Regions from separate parts of the Homo sapiens genome. Here regions 2, 3, 4 and 5 are each linked to region 1. Evidence: promoter capture Hi-C in 16 types of primary human blood cells and fetal thymus (Javierre and others, 2016). All regions are on one chromosome and are shown on one strand. Each heading gives the region's core, a stretch centred on a gene start or on the middle of the fragment in contact. The rest is flanking DNA. Distances are from core to core; before and after follow the strand shown. Region 1 holds the start of LINC03031 (long intergenic non-protein coding RNA 3031). Region 2 overlaps DNAJC24 (DnaJ heat shock protein family (Hsp40) member C24). Region 3 overlaps DCDC1 (doublecortin domain containing 1). Region 4 overlaps DCDC1 (doublecortin domain containing 1). Region 5 overlaps DCDC1 (doublecortin domain containing 1).

Evidence for each region. Contacts are between HindIII fragments. The CHiCAGO score rates a contact against its expected background, and 5 or more counts as called.
Region 2: a fragment that was not itself captured here is called in contact with the fragment with the promoter of LINC03031 in region 1 in 3 of 17 cell types (naive CD8 T cells, naive CD4 T cells and megakaryocytes); the score reaches 6.3 in naive CD8 T cells.
Region 3: a contact is called between a fragment that was not itself captured here and the fragment with the promoter of LINC03031 in region 1, in 1 of 17 cell types (non-activated CD4 T cells). The highest score is 5.1, in non-activated CD4 T cells.
Region 4: a fragment that was not itself captured here is called in contact with the fragment with the promoter of LINC03031 in region 1 in 3 of 17 cell types (naive CD8 T cells, total CD4 T cells and endothelial precursors); the score reaches 6.9 in naive CD8 T cells.
Region 5: a contact is called between a fragment that was not itself captured here and the fragment with the promoter of LINC03031 in region 1, in 2 of 17 cell types (naive CD8 T cells and endothelial precursors). The highest score is 7.1, in naive CD8 T cells.

Annotation. Positions count from the first base shown.
Region 1 is chr11:32,039,961-32,043,168 of GRCh38, reverse strand. It overlaps LINC03031 (long intergenic non-protein coding RNA 3031), which reads left to right and starts at 1,851. Exons shown (of 3, transcript NR_120526.1): 1 at 1,851-2,061. It overlaps LOC105376613 (a long non-coding RNA gene), which reads right to left and starts at 1,205. Exons shown (of 3, transcript XR_931165.3): 1 at 1,119-1,205. The HindIII fragment of the contact is 15,155 bases long and covers 1-3,208 here.
Region 2 is chr11:31,405,925-31,409,296 of GRCh38, reverse strand. The region is part of intron 2 of DNAJC24 (DnaJ heat shock protein family (Hsp40) member C24); the gene reads right to left. Among named protein-coding and RNA genes, the nearest start is that of DNAJC24, 38 kb to the right of the region's middle. The HindIII fragment of the contact is 2,557 bases long and covers 202-2,758 here.
Region 3 is chr11:31,090,836-31,094,353 of GRCh38, reverse strand. It overlaps DCDC1 (doublecortin domain containing 1), which reads left to right. Exons shown (of 39, transcript NM_001387274.1): 16 at 170-304; 17 at 2,843-2,961. Among named protein-coding and RNA genes, the nearest start is that of DCDC1, 280 kb to the left of the region's middle. The HindIII fragment of the contact is 3,436 bases long and covers 1-3,119 here.
Region 4 is chr11:31,217,230-31,220,420 of GRCh38, reverse strand. The region is part of intron 9 of DCDC1 (doublecortin domain containing 1); the gene reads left to right. Among named protein-coding and RNA genes, the nearest start is that of DCDC1, 150 kb to the left of the region's middle. The HindIII fragment of the contact is 258 bases long and covers 1,397-1,654 here.
Region 5 is chr11:31,117,661-31,121,155 of GRCh38, reverse strand. All of the region lies in intron 11 of DCDC1 (doublecortin domain containing 1), which reads left to right. Among named protein-coding and RNA genes, the nearest start is that of DCDC1, 250 kb to the left of the region's middle. The HindIII fragment of the contact is 1,320 bases long and covers 1,518-2,837 here.

The DNA of each region.
Region 1 (3,208 bases), core at 602-3,101:
TAAAGCATCTCGTGTACCCCAGAAATATATACATCTACTATGTACCCATGAAAATTAAAAACTTACCAGTGATCCCACTACCAAGTAATCATTTTGATCTATTTCTTCTTAGTCCTTCTCTTCCTTTTTTTTTTTGTTGTCCAACATTACACCAAGATTTTTTTATTATTATTATTATTATACTTTAAGTTCTGGGATACATGTGCAGAACGTGCAGGTTTGTTACATAGGTATACATGTGCCATGGTGTTTTTCTGCACCCATTAACCCATCATCTACATTAGGTATTTCTCCTAATGCTATCCCTCCTCTAGCCCCCCACCCCGCCACAGGCCCCGGTGTGTAATGTTCCCCTCCCTGCGTCCATGTCAATGCAAATATAGATGTTTATCTTTTTATAAATGATATCATAGTATATGTATTATTTTGTTGTTGTTTGTTTTGTTTTGTTTCTTGTGTCAGAGTCTCACTCTGTCATCCAGGCTGGAGTACAGTGGCACTGTCACAGCTCACAGCATCTTAGAATTATTCTGCTCAAAAAAATCCTTCTGCCTCAGCCTCCTGAGTAACTGGGACTACAGGTGTGCGCCACCATGCCCAGCTAATTTTTAAAAAATTCTTTATAGAGACTGTCTCACTATGTTGCCTAGGCTGGTCTTAAACTCTTGGCCTCCAGCAACCCTTCTGCCTTGGCCTCCGAAGTGCTCAGATTACAGGCATGAGCCACCGTGCCCTATTTATTACATATTATTTATAATGAATTCTTCTACAATACATTTATTAATCATCTTTACTCCAGACCATCATATGGCTGTATTCTAATATATTGTCCAATTCCTTAGTCTTTTTTTTTTTTGAGATGGAGTTTCTCTCTGTCACCCAGGCTGGAGTGCAGTGTTGCCATCTCGGCTCACTGCAACCTCCACCTCCCAGCTTCAAGCAATTCTCATGCCTCAGCTTCTCGGGTAACTGGGACTATAGGCACCCGCCACCACGCCTGGCTAATTTTTTTTTTTTTTTTTTTTTTAGTAGAGAAGGGGTTTTACCATGTTGGCTAGGCTGGTCTCAAACACCTGCAATCCCTTAGCCTTGTATACATATTTTTTTTCATTTCCTACCTTCTTTTTTTGCCATTATAAATAACACTGGGATGAACATCCTTGTAGATAAGTATTTCCACACATCCTGATTTTTTTCTAGTGAAGTTCTAGAACTGGAATTCAGGAAGATGTAATCACCATTGCTACTATTCCTTTTTTTAAAGCCCATTTTGATGTCATTGATCTTTCACTGTCTCCTCTGGTTGGGCAACTCTCAGTCAGGTTTTCAGAACAATAGCCCTTTGTCTGGTTTATGTTAAACAATATGAGAACTTGAACATTTTCTGTTCTGAAATATTCATAGGTTTTTTTTTTTTAATCTTCTACCATTGCAAGCAGTTAAAAACACAGCCTGGAGAAATGACATTTTTCTTTCAGAAAATGAATTGGTAATTTATTTGAATGAGGCTGGGTAGTTGTTTTAAATTATTACCTGATGCATACCACTAATGAAATGAAGTCCGTTTACATCTTTAAATAACCTTTAATATTTGTACAAGTAAATATCTCCATTTGACAATAATGGAAATTGTCAGAAATTTTCATTTTCTCACAATTTAGCTCACTCACAATGGCTGTCAGACAGCCGGATGATCTGACGCAGCGCACTGCTAATCGTTTCAGCAGAAGACAGTGTTTCAAAGGTACGGGAAAGGAGGTGCAGACACTAATGAAGTTTTATTATCAGAACATAGAATTAGGATTGTGACAAGAGACAATGGTGGCAATGACACGTAGTTAGAATGTTACAGCTTGTGAAGTCTGTAGCTAAATCTCAGGAACAGAAATGTTGAGAAGGGTAGACTGATGACTACCCCTCAGTGGAAACAGACCAGATCTCAGCTTATCTGGCTGGAAGGAAAGCAAAAAAACAAAGCAAAACCAACCAAAAAATCCTAAGAAACAAAAGACAGATTCAAGCCAATCTGTGATTTGTAAAATAAGCCAGGTGCAGGCTTGTGTAAGTATCCTTGACATACCCAAATGATGAAATTGGCATGCTTTGGTATGTTTGTTTTCAAAAACAAGGTGGTAAAAGCTGAATCCAATGGATCACAATTATACTAAGGACTCCAGGTTTGAAATACTGACATCGGTGATTAGAAATTATTTTGTGGGAGAGAGGGAAGGGAGGTAAAAAGAAGGAAGTAGAAAAAGGAGGGTGAGGAGGGTCCATCGTCATCCAAAATGGAGCCCACAGTAACAATCTCAGTGAGATGACCCTTCAGAATAGCCCTTGCCATTTATCCTTCATTCACTTATTAATATTTGATAGATACTTATTGTCTACTAAGTACCAGGCACTGCTCCACTGAACACCAGGATACAGTGGTGAATAAGACACATAAGGCCCCTATTTTCACAATTTATATTCTTTTGGGGGCTAGAGAGAAAATAAACAAATAAGAAAATATGACATATAGCACTATGGGCTATGCAAAGAATTATAATAAAGTGAAGTGATATGGTGCTGGGGAGGCTGTTTTATAAAGTATGTAGTGTGTGGTGGTCTTAAAGCAAGTCTTCAGGTACTTCGATACTGTTCTACTAGTAGGTAGAGTCTATGTCCCTTCCCCTTGCACCTGAGGGGCTTCTGTACCTACCTGGAAGAATAGGACACAAAGGAAGTGGCTATCAGTTTGAAAAGGCCATGCAGCTTCTGCTGATTTTTCTTGGAACATTCACTCTAGGTGCCTTCAGCTGAATGTAAGAAGTCCAGCTATCATGAAGTCTCCATGTGGACAGACAATTCAGAGGAATGAGAGAGAGAGAGACCTGAGCAGCTAGCAGTGCCAGCACCTAGATGTTTGAATCTTCCCAGCCCAGATACATGATGGAAAAAACTTCAAGATGCCCATTGGACAGCAACCACATGAAAGACCTGGAGTGAGAACTCCTAAGCTGAGATCTCACTCTTTCAGACTCCAGAGCCAAATAAATAATTATTAATGTTTAAGCCACTGTTTTGGTGTGGCAACAATAAAGGCCTGGAACAGGGTGATACGGGAAGGTTTCTTTGAGGATATGATGCTTATGCTGAAGACCTCAGTATCATGAAGGAGCCAGGGGAGAAAGAACATTCTGGGCAAAGGAAATGGTGGGAAGAT
Region 2 (3,372 bases), core at 231-2,730, 630 kb after region 1:
AAGATCTGTGCATTTTTCATTTTATGTTGACAATATCAACAGAAAAACATCTTCAGACATGTCTAAATTTTTAAAAAGGAATTTAGCAAATCTTTCTAAGCCATAAAGGAAAAATAAGGAATTTCTTCCATTAATAGAAAAACAAGTACAACAGAAAACCAAAAAATTAATGGAAAAACTAACATGAATTAGTGAAAAGCTTGAATTACACACTAGTTTATGGAAATTGTTTTATTACTTTCAAGCACATTTGCCAACTCTAATAACTTCAAAACATTTTAAAAGGCTAAGCATTGTTGAGTAGAAAGCCAAAATGCATCCAAAATTAAAATACCATAAATATGTCACAATATTAGAAATACTGAGAGTGATAGTATCTGTGTGATTCTTTATTATACAAAGACATCTATTTCCAAAATTTCAGTAAAGTGCTATTTTATTACTCTGAAATGACTTCACACCTATAACTGTATGATCTAAGTAATTTCCTCAAATTTTGGGGAAAATTTTCAATTACATAAACTTAAATTCTTCTTTAAATTACCATATCATTCATTGAGAATAAGAAAAACTAACACAAAAATAGATTAAGAAACTTTCTTGATACAAAAATAAAGGATCATTCATGGTACTACAAAAGATATACAGGAAATGATATAATATTTCATCAGGATTGGTATGTGTTATCTGTTTTCTAAATGACTATTTCATGGATAAGTAACACTTCAGTTATGAAATCTTAATTCTCATCAGCTGAGATTTTATGGCAATGGGCTGTCCAGTATGAAATATTTTATTTTGATTTTAAAGTCTCTCTACATATTAAGTCTAAGTGCTTTCTAAATTACTAATTCCAGAGTGACTGTCACAATGTGTCACCTCAGTGCTACTCAAAATGTGGTCCTCAGAACTGCAGCATCAGCATCATCTGAGAGCTTGTTACAAATATCAATTCTTGGGACTCACCTCAAATCTTCAGAGGGAGGACTCCAGAATCTCTGTTTCACCAAGCTCTCCAAGCAACTGTTACGCGTGCTAAAATTTGAGAAGCACACTGTTTGCCTTGACTGCTTAAAACAAGGAATTCATGGGCAAGTCAGAAGATGAGTGCTTCACAAAAATTTTCCTGTGACAGATGCGTCCTTCCAAGTATGTACACCAAAAAGAGGGGGAAAAAATCCAATAACCTGTAACACCACAATGAAAATTGCAATGTGTTTCAAGTCGGAATTTTTTTTATATTTGATACCTTTCGTTCACTAATCATAAATGTCAACTTCTTCATTCCACTGTTTGTATTGATACCATCTTATGTCACAGATGAAGATGCTGATGAAATGTGAACAATATGCCAGTGGTATTTTAACCTGTTTATTTTTTTTTTTTTAAGAGAGGGGCATAATTTGTATCAGGCTTCACCTACTTAACACTAATGATGATACCCACTGATAAATTTAGCACAGAAACAAGTTTTTCAACTAAGAAATGAAGCATGTAAAATTATGAAAATAGCATCATACAATGCAGTGTGAAAATTCTAGCAACTTCTAAAAGATTTTAGTGAAAAATTTTATATATATATATATATATTTTTTTTTTTTTTTTTTTTTTTGAGATGGGATCTCTCTCTGTCATCTGGGCTGGAGTGTAATGGAGTGATCCTGGCTCACTGCAACCTCTGCCTCCCAGGCTCAAGCGATCCTCCCGCCTCAGCCTCCCAAGTAGCTGGAACCACAGGCATATACCACCGCACCTGGCTAATTTTTGTATTTTCTGTAGAGATGAGGTTTCCATATTGCCCAGGCTGGTCTCCAACTCCAAGACTCAAGTAATCCATCCACCTTGTGAATATTATATATTCATTAGCTCCAAATGATATTTTCTATTGGCTACACAACATATAAAGTTGAAATGAAATGATATTTCTTTACAGTAAACACGTAAGAGTTTTATGGTAAAGTGGCTACATATATTAATCCTTAACTACACACTTGTGATTGTGCTGTTTTGATACATAAAATATAAACTATACATAAGAAGTAACAATAAACCATGAAAAGGACTCTGGGCAAATCTGATTACACAGAAATCCCCAAATAGGCTAATATTACTTGATTTATCAATGTGGCACTTGAGGACATAGCACTTTGGTTTTCCCTATGTATTAATAGATGAGTTTTAGTACCATCAATAGGATGCTAGCTCTCTGTCTCTAGCTTCAAATTTTCTTGAATTCTAGAACCAAATTTTGAAATACTTTCTAGAAGCTACCTTGTCAGCACAAGTTTAATATGTTTGATATCCAATATATTATCCAGACTCTAAAATTTGTTTATCCTCCTGTTGAATTCCTTGCTCTGTTAAAAAATAACTCCACGCTCAATAAATGCTAAATGAATGGATGAGAGGGGAAAAATTTTTCTAATAATCCAGACTATCAATATTAGGGTAACCCCTCTTTCCCTCCTCCCATGAACTGCCAAATCTATAGATTATACCTACATAATTTCCTTTCTATTCCCAATACCAAACCTAGTACAGACCAACATTAGCTCCTAACTAGTCCCCAGCAATCATCTTCTAACAGCTTTCCAATCCATCTTACCTGCTTCAAAGTCACTCAACATAACTCTGACCATGTCATTCCCCAGCTCATAAATTTTAAAGGGCCAACTAATGCATAGTGAATTACAGTGAAACTCTTTATCCTTAAAAGTAAAGTCCTACAATATAAGAACCACAACCTACCATTCAAGCTTTATCTATTACAAGTATTAAACACTGAATATATAAACACCGTATTTTAACTATATCCATATCTGTGCAAAGATCAGCACAGTGCCTCTTCGCACAAGTATCCTTCATAAATATTTGTATATTTAAGCTGTGTGTTTAATATTTTCCCCAAAAGTACAAAATATGAAACTTACTGATTTTAGTCAGCAACATACAGGAGGAGAGATAAATTTTAGGTTTAGTCTGAGGTACTGCACTTAAGTGCCTTTTCTCTCATACTCTTTCCTAGTGAACAAGTATTTACTATGTCATTCTATTACATTGAAACTATGAAAAAATGATATGAAAATGCTTCAGCCCAATGATCTCCCTTCAAATACTTTTCAAATTGAGGAATGAGATATAGAGGAAACAAACACTAAGAGGAATGCATTCAAAAGAATACATTTGGAAAAAAAAAAGGATTTGTAGCTGCTATGATTTGAACGTGTGCCCAATCCAAAACTCATGTTAAATTTCATTGTCATTGTGACAGTACTAGGAGGTAGTACCTTTCAGCAGTGATTGGGCCATGACTGCTCTGCCCTCATGAATAGACTAATGTTATATTTCTGGAGTGGATTCCTTATAAAAGGC
Region 3 (3,518 bases), core at 152-2,651, 950 kb after region 1:
TCAACAAATATTGATTGAATTGAATTAAAGGGGATTGAATGCTACTTTTTGAAAAGAGGTATCAATCAGAATAAATAATGTTCTAGGATAACTTATTTTGGGTAAGTGTGTTGAGGAGTTTAACTCTTAGACTATGAGTTAAAAATGCATACTTCTTCTTATGATACAGGTAGATCCCAATATTGTCCTTCATGCCTCTGTTTCCATTGGAAAGTGGAGTTTCTCAGGCAGTGAAGCAAGCAGCAGGAGTCAAATAGCGCCATCGATCCTGTGGCCTGTAGCCAGTGTGTGGCTGATCACCAAGGTACCTAAGAGTGTCTGCTTTTGCTGAGTGACCTCCCCTTGCTTGCTGGCTCACGGCACTTGCTGGCACCTGGTGCTCTCATGCACATGGGCATACAAGTGAAAGCGTGATAAATTGTTGGCTGTTATAGATGCCATCTCTGCCGTTGGTATTGCCTAGCCCACGGGACTTCTGTAGATTCTCAAATGAGCATTCAGTTCACTATCAGACATGCTGCTGATTAGTTTATACCTCACAGTGTATTTAAACCAAGCATAGAATTTGTTTGTAGTCCACAGACTCATCATTTTCATGAGATTTGTCTGAATGTGCTTCTACTCCTAGATCTTCATTTTGAGTTTTACCCCTCAGCTTTCCTGAGCCTGGTAGATTACCAACATATACCAACTTTGCATATTGTCTTAGCAAGGACGTAGTTTTAAAAGAAATCCCTGAGTATAAACATGAGCAGTGCCTAACACATTTTGTTCCTGTGTGTTGGTAATATTTAATATTTTTCACTTTATTATTGTACTATTGTATATGACTTATAGAAGAACATAAAATTGTCCTTTCCTTTCATCTTACTACTGCAGTACATTTTGTAAATATGTATTTATGTTGAAAAGAGATGATGCAGTTCACAATTATCTTTCCTGTATCTCCCTTTGTCCCGTCATCACAGATGATTTTGCTACTACTTAGCACTCCTGTGAATGCGAAGTCACCCAATGAAGTTTGCTGGGAGGAGGGAAGATTGACACTATTTTCGCAAATGAAATTTTGGATTGCCCTTAGCTATTGTTCTTTAAAAGTTAAAAACAAACATATAGAATAATTAAGACACAAAGGTACTAAGACATATTATTTATTTCATATATCACAGCATAGTAAGTTTACATGAGCTTTTCCTGAAATCTGGATTTCCAGCTGGAGTCTATGTTAACTATTTGCCCTTTTTACATGGTATTTTGTTTCTGATTTAATAATAATAACATCTCCACTTAGTTGAATACTGTATGTCAGACATTACATTAGGTACTTTATTCACATTCATTATTTCATTTAATGTTACAAGAACTGTGCAGATTTTTATTATACAGCTGAAGAAACTGAGGTTAGTAATAGCAGAAGAAAGATTCTTGGTCTCTTTGACTTCAGAACTTTCATTGTGATATAAAACACTCCTCTATATTTGACTCACCTGTGAGCATAATGGAAGTGTTTTAGTCCCAGCACTGCCACTGAATAACTATATGACAGCAGACAAGTCACACATGGTATCTAGGCCTTGGTGTTCTATCAAAAAGAGTTGGACCAGTTGCTATGGAAGGTCCATTCTCAGATCCCATATTCTTTCATTTCATGGTATCTGTTTCTAGAATTTCATGATAGCAGAAAACATGTACTTGTCTAAAATCTCCTCAAAAATAATTGGAATGCCTACCAAAAGAGTATAGTTTTGGAGTTATTAAATAATTGAAATCTCTTGTGTGACATTGGGAAAGTTACTTAGCTGCATTGAACTACTGTTTTCTCTTCTATAAATGATGTTAGTCTTATCTGCTTTGCACAGTTGCTGTGAAGATGAAATGAGAAAGCATATGTGATGTTCAAGCATGGTGTCTGGTATACAGAAAGTGCTTAATAAATGATGGCTGCCTTTCCTCACCCTAAGCAGTTCTTTTTTCTGTATAGACAAGCATGATCAAACAAGGATTTCATTCAGTACTTACTAAAACCAATTTTTTTTAGAAATATTTTTCGTAAGTCATCAGTCATCATCATGTTTCTTTTCCACACTGCAAACACATGAGAAATAAAGTATATGCTAAAAAGGAAACAATTCTGAAAATCCTTTAAGATTGAACTCTCTCTTCCTGTTTTAAAAATACATCTTTTTACCTATTAAGAGAGAATTTTACGTGCCATAAATCTCCAGTAGATGTAGACAAATTTCTCTATGGTTGTCACTTATAAAAAATGTTGTGTTGACTCACTAAGTAAGAAAATGGTTAAATGGCCCTTCAAGCAATATTCCCCTTTAATTTCCTTGGCAGAAAATCCTAACATTTAAAATAAAAGCAGTTCACAAACCACCTTAAAATGTTTAACCCATGATATTTAGACCCAGAGTAAAACTTTAAATTGATACAAAGGTTAAGGATTTGTTTCAGTCTTTTCAGTTCACTGCACTATTTTTTTTCTGTGCATACATATTTCCGGTAAGCTCTGTAGTTATAACTACAGCAAGTGACACGTGATGGACCCCAAATTGCTGCACTGTGAAATATGCACAGAAAAAAAAAGACAAATGAAGATATCAAGGTCTGTTTTATTTCGCACTGAACTGTAAAATGCCACCCTTGTTGGACAGAAGATTACTGATTCTGAGCAGGGCTCGCTGACTGCTAAGTTGTGGGTAGTGTTTCACTTTCAGCAACTGTTAATATCCAGGGTTATCCAGGCATAATGACCTCACTATTTGTGACACATTGTTGAATTTTCTGGTTCTTTTAACTTATTTAGACCTTTCTCCCCCTCTCTATTCATTGGAAGACTGGAATGATCCTGAGCCGAGCGATAACTCAGGGCTGCCTGGCTATTGGTCATCCTATCAGAGTCAAGGCTGCTGAGGGAACATCACTAGAAGGATATAAATTAATCTTACAGAAAAGGTAATGCTTATAAATTATTTAGCTCAAGATAATAAATGCTAATTTCAAGAATTCTGAGCAGTTCAATTGTGATGCCTCCTGGTTTGGATTGAATATTCATTCAATGTTTAAATTTGTGTTCATAATAACAATATTAATTTCTGAATCCAAAGTAAGCTTGAAAATGTATGCCACTTAGTTTGGTAGTGTTTTAAAGATATTTAAAAGGTGAAATGTTGGCCTTCAACATGTATCTATGTCGTAGACAAACTGCTGCTTTACTCTATAATTATCAGAACTCATTTCTTTATATCCATTTTGATTGTTAATTAACAAACTTAAATTTTTGTGTATATTCATAACCTTTTTCCATCTTCTGAATACAAAACATTGAACTGTGAAAGAATAATCACAGAGACCAAAAAATGCTGGCTTGTAACGGACTGTAAGTGTCCTTCTTATTTGTTTTTTTCTGATTTAGGAAGATATAATAAAGGAAAGCAGATTGAGGAAGAAAGTTGATTTATCTCCAAGAGTCTCAAAATATTGTTTTCTAGTCACTTTCTTTTTTCTTGGTC
Region 4 (3,191 bases), core at 276-2,775, 820 kb after region 1:
TTTACATCTTTGCAGTGTGAATTTAAATTTTTGGAAATTCAAAAAGTAATTTTTGTTAAATTTGGTGAAACATTTAGTATTAAGTATCAAAAATAGTTTCATCAAGAATATATTATGAAGCTGCGTATTTTCATTAGGACCTAATTCCTAGATAAATATTGCCCATTACACGTTTCAAAGATTCTTCTAAATGCTTCAGGAATTGTACATGATAATCCTTATTGAGTGTTTTATTTTGTGGTATGAATTTTATAAGAATGTCATTTGTGTCAAAGAAATAAAATTATCTTCACTGGTGATTTTGACATGGACTTCCTAGAATATAGGGTTATTGTTATTAAATCTTCTCTTTTTCTGTTCACATGAAATTCATGGCGTATCTTCAGAGTAATTTTAAAAAATTTTCTGGCCAATCCAGTATCCTGTACTGTTTCAGGTGTGGGGGCTGGAGTCAGATTGCTTCAGGTCAAGTCCAGGCTTTCGTGTTTAACCAGCTCTGAGGTCTTAGGCAAGTTAACTAACCCCTGTTTTCAGGTTTCTTATCTGTAAAATGAGGTTAATAATAGGATTGTTGTGAGATTATACCTGTAAACACTTAAAAATGAGATAATACCTAAAAATGGTAAAATTTATATGTGCTTATATGGTGCCTGGCTTATAGAAAACAATAAATATTAGCTATTATTACCATCATCATATCATCATTCTCTGCTCATATCCAATCACTGCCTGCCACCTTTGTCGAGCACAGTGCCTTGTCCTTAGTTGGTATATTTGTTGATAAACCAGTGAAAGAATGAAAACCCTTTTCAAGATTTCTTTTAGAATAAGTCTAATTCTTTGACTAAATTTAACTCTTTGGTCATCTTTCTTTCAATTATTTATTTGAATGCACTAAATATCATATCTTCAACATTTTCTGTCTTACAGTAAGGGGTTTCTAAGCCTGACAGCATCAGAATCACATAGGTCCCGCCTCTGCTCATGTTTATATTCAGCAGACCTGGGCAGGACCAGGGGGCTAGTTTATTGAAAATGCTCTAGAGTTGATTCTGATACTCAAGCTAGGTTGAAGTATTGTGAGAGTGAGTCTTATTTTCTTAATGAAATTTTTGAGATCAGTTAAAAAAAATCTTGTTTTTGACATAACTTTATCCCCTCCAGCTTCTTTTTACAGGTCATGTACTATTTTGCAGATACATTTGTTAAAAATCTAAATTTATTCTAAAATTTTTACTTTTTTTTTTAACTGTAAATTGTTTTGTGCTCTAAATTGTTTGCTTTGTAATGTGGGCTGTGTGTGTGTGTATGTATGTGAGAGTGTGTGTGCTTCTTTAGCACCAACTCAGGCATGGGCTGGCCAGCCTTCGGAGCTCCGTTCTTCCAGGTCAAAGCTTGTTTAAACTTGTCCTTGCTATGATCACTCCTTCACTGTTTCTTCAAGCCATGCATGAGAATCAGCCTCATTACTTTAAAGCAGCACCTCATATGCTCAGAATGCTCTGCCATCTAATTTCAGCAAAATTACATATCTACCCACCAAATTTTACTAAAAATTAGGACCTTGTCATAATATTGGGATTTTTCCAGTTTTGGTACACAACTAATATACTAGTTAATGGGAGTGAGGGAGGAAGAATGAAGGTAGAAAGCTTCAAGTTAAAAGTTAGAATATAGGTTTGAAATATTAACGTTACTTAGAGTTAGACACTGAGTTTTTAATCCTCTCCAACTTATCATCTGTTTGACATTTAGCTGTTACATTTTATTATGACCCTTTTTTTCTTTTATAAAAGTATATTTATGCTGATGTCATAAAAGATAAAATTTAGTTCTGGAAGCTCTCTGCAAATGTCATTGGACACTGGGCAATAAATGTAACCCAAATAACCTGATGTCAGGGAAAATAAAAATCAAGGCAGCATTCTAATGATAATAGCTTTAAAAAAGTGAATGTCTCTTTAAGGAAAACAGAATCTTTTGTTACATTTAAGTAGTGACTTGAAATTGGAAACATAGAAAGTTGGATTTGAAAAGGAAGTGATTGCTTTAATTTTTTCCCTATAAACATTTATTCTTAGAGTATCAAGAGAAAAGCTTTTGAGAAGAATGATGATGACAATATCTTGTATTTTATACCAATGTGTATTATCAATTGCATTAGTTTTCTAGTGTTTTGGCTTTTGTGAGAACTTCAGTACACATTAGAAATATTTTCTCTTCTTTTTCAATGTTCTCATTAATTAAAAAAATCTGTAATTATATTTTCTGCTTTGGAAATATTTATATTACGACTTTTTTTTTTCTTAAAGCAAATGACAAAAGATAAAAAGTAAAAGATAAAAATTTAGGAAAAAAGGTTTTCTCCACTTAGTGGGTACATATTTTAGAGAGGAGATATTTCTGCATTTTGTAATGCTGATATTTCTTTGAAATATATAGCATAGATTTTCAAACAATAGCCAATAGCCAAAACAGATTGGACACACTATCTTTGTTGGGAGACATGGGCAGAGATATAGAGTACACATTATGAAAAAATCTATTTTTTCAGTTGAATTCCACTTGCATATTACTTCTCTGACAATTCTATAAAAATGAAGAGATATTACTTTAGTGACTTTTGTTAAATTTAGAAAGAAAATCTTATTAGCATGCATGTGGGATTAAATGTTGTATCATTTATAATAATATGTGTTTTACTACTTCTTATTTTTAAAATATCCTGTCTTTCAGTAATTAATTCCCCTTTGAGTTGAGTATATCCTTGCCTGAAACAGAATAGTTTCAGTGGATAAACAATGGGATGGCACATATAGAAGTACATAGTTTTTCTGTAGAAGATAGTTTCCAGTGATAACATTTGGATCTTTTCTTACAGAGGTGCTTCTAGTTTTCTATTTTATGTCTAACTTATAGATGGATAATATGGACTAGTTTGTGCTCTTCCTTTGTATACATATATACTTGACCCATTTGTGATTTAACTTACTATGACAGCTTTTCAAAATCGACCGGAGTTGTTTATAGTCCTCCAGATCAGAGTATCTAAAAACTTAGTTTTTTAAAAAATTGACTTAAAATCACTTTGAAGTCCATATAGTTCAGATTATACATAAAAATTTGTATATACTTACAAATAGACTTACCTATTTTCAAATATGCAAATCAGCACAGACCAAAAGTAAAGA
Region 5 (3,495 bases), core at 928-3,427, 920 kb after region 1:
AAATTTCTTACTGTTTTTACCATCAGTGGTTACACTCAATGTGCACCATCATCTACAAAGCCCTTCAGGCAACAAGTGTTTTGGAGCAATTTCTTACTATTCTAAACTTTCTCTTACCCCTTATTCCCTGTCACTGCCACTACCCCCAGTCTCTTTGAGAACATCTGCTAGAGCCATGGCTCAGTGACTTCTGCCTTCCTAGTCCTGTTCTTTCCATGCAACTCCTCCTCCTCTTCATCCCCATGGAAATGTCAGCAATGTTAGCATTTCCCTGGGAGGGCAGGAAAGAAAGGATTGCTGGGAAAGGGTATTAGCAAATCTGTAGGGGGATGGTGAGTGGAAAAGCTAGTAGGAAGGTGGGTGATTGTGACAGAGAATTGATGAGCAAGGAGAATGTGTGATGTCTGAGTAGGTGGGAGAAAGCATGAGGGAATGAGAGGAAGATGAGTACAGGCATATCCTTTCACTGGAATTAGTGAATTTCACACACAATTGGTCAGTGATGCTCTGAGAGTTGTTTTCTATTTGCTGCCAGTAGAGGCAGATCCAGTTTCTGTGGGACCTAGAGCTTGTCAAATTTGGGAGCCAGCTTGGGGTGGGGAGCTCTCTTTGAAATTAGGTCTGAAAGTGAATATTTATTTAGAATGAGAAAGTAAATCGCAACAAATCAATGGAGTGTTGGCAATTCAGGCTCTTTCTTCTGGGTCTTTTTTAGGCAGCTCATCAGAAATACTTACACAGAAGTATTTTATGACAACTTCCAGAACTCTTAGGACCTAGAATGACTCTAATCTTCATTAACTTCACTTAAATCCACTCTGACCATGAGCAAGAGAAATATGGTGGAATTTAGTAACCTGGATAATAACAAGATTCATAGCACTCTGATTTGGAGACATTTTTAGGCTTTCTATTTTTATATTGTTTAGTTATAGTGTTCTCTTCTATTGTAAGTAAATTTAAGCTTTGTTAAAGGGATAATTCAGAGATTTCTTTTTTAAAGGATGTCTTCATCCAGCATCTAGTTCATCATCCAGGTTGTATGCATCTAACAATTTTTATTCTGCCAATGACAGAAAGGAAGAAGATTTTAAATGAATAGTCCAGTAAATCCACATATTATCAAATAGCCTTGTCCAGAAGACATTGTGCTAGGAACTGTGGGAAGATGCAGAGAAGCATAGAACACCTTTTTGACCCAAGGCCACGATTATTTTCATACAATTAGAAACAATATGACAACACTATGAACAGATTAGCAAAACCAATCTGTTCATCTTCTTACCTTTTTACTACAATTCCATTATTTTAAGTTCCCAGGCCTCTTTACATTTTGAAAATGGGCTAATTTGGTTGGTAACAGAAAACATGTGACTTTCCTGTGCATTGAATACTTAAATTTATTCTTTGAATGGCACAAAAGCACCATGAAAGAAGTTGAGATTTGCCTTCTATTTTGTGGTCATTTTTAAAAAAGTTTAAAGTTTCCAATCATTCATTTGTATTAATAGAAAGCTTATTTTAATATTTAGGAATCTATGGAACAATTAAATGATAACTAAGGTCAGTTGCACATGAAAGTGTGACAAGATTTTTTTTGGTTGGTGTTTTCACTGTTCTATGTGCATATTACGTTATTTCCATTGTACATTCCTTGATCCGTGTCGTTCTTATTTAACCACTTTTCCTAAACATGTATTTATAACCCCTAGGATGCTCTGTTATGTCACCTAAATTATTTGAGTAAACAATGGGAAACAAATTTAGGATATGGCTTAGGTACAGTTAGTAAAACATGCCAACTTTGCGTTCATTTGAAAAGGAATTGTGGTGAGAGTAGCAAAATTGGAATATTCAAGGTTATTGTGATTTTGAGAACATTCACTAAAGGTTGGGCAAAATGTAATGAAGATGATCAATTTTCATATGTAGGTTTTACGATAGTAGGAAAATATTGGACTGCCCATTTTAAAGGTAAAGAAACAGATCCTACGAAGCCTTTACACATCTCATGTGATAGCTAATTAGCGGCAGGTGCTGAAATCTCTTGACTCTTCTTTGCAGCGCTCTTTTCCATCTTGCCACCACCTTTTCTTCCTCCTGTCCTCATTGCCCCACTCCTCCTCCTCTTTGTGGATTTTGGGGGGAAAATGCCAGTATATTCATACTACCTTATTTTCTGACAGGCATCTGCAGTCAGGTGTAAATCTCCGTAGGAAGATACAATCTTCCTTTTCAAGATGTGCTGAAGAGAAAAACTGCGTCTGTATCAAAATCAGGGAAGAGCAATTGGTCTGGGCATTAGCTCCCATGCAGTGCCTGTTATAATGAGACAGGCTTTCCCTGTGCAGGCCTGACATCCTAGAAGGTGCCCGGAGAATTGCCAGGTGGGCAGTCAGCGGGGAAAGTCCACAGGCCAGAGCTGTATTACTGTCCCAGCAGTTATTCGGACTAAATGCAACCACTGAACCTTACTGTTGCAGGCACACACTCTCTCTCAGTGAGATTGTCCTTCTCCATAACAGTTAATTTGTTTTTACCTCTCAATTAGCTTTTTCACGGAGTGTTTGATATGTTCAAGTTGCTGAGATTCCTTTCCTACATATGTTCCCGTCCCCTGGATTACCGACTGACATCTATGTTAGTCTGACTCACCATGAACGTTATCGAGCATAAATTCTTCATTTGAACATAAATGAATGCAGATTTTCTCGTAAGTGAAAATGGGGTGATGAATTTACACCTACTTAAGATTCTACCTAGTTTTGATTGTGTTTTATGATGAAAAAAATGGATTACTTCTTAAAATATAAATGTTTTATTATAGATAGTAAGCTTTTGTACAGCTTTTAGTTTCTCAGGATACTCATTCACTTTAGGGGAAAATTATGTTTACAGGCATATTTGATATAAAGAAATGAAACTGAATGGCAGTAAAAGCATACACTCTTTCCAAGGGTAAGAATATGATCTATAAGGCTGATAATTTGGGGAAAGTTTGATGATTTAGTTTATATTTAATCCTACAATGTTCATTTCTCCTAGTAAAATAAAATTTGAGGGGCACATGACTATGTTTTTCTCATCAAAAAAACACTGACTTTCTATAAAAATAAATATATTGGTGCCAGGAAACTCCAAAAACCTTTATTTACCAAGCTCTTTTTACAAAATACATCATACTCAGCTACTGACAGGACCCACATGCCTGATATTTTAATCCCGATTAAATATAATTTTAGGGATTAAGTTAATTTAGACAAAGTGAAATCCTTGTTGCAATTCTTCTTGAGATATTCCATTTATAAAGGGCTTTTTGAAATTACTTGGCTTAGGACATGACACGCAAGCAAATTTCCTTTGCCACTGTCTTCTGGAAAGTTTTAAACATTTTCATATATTGAACTTAGATTTGCAATTGGATACAAATTGATTTTTTGTTTTTTTTTTGCAGAAACATATGCCTTATTTTTTGTCAATAGTCACAGCAAAATG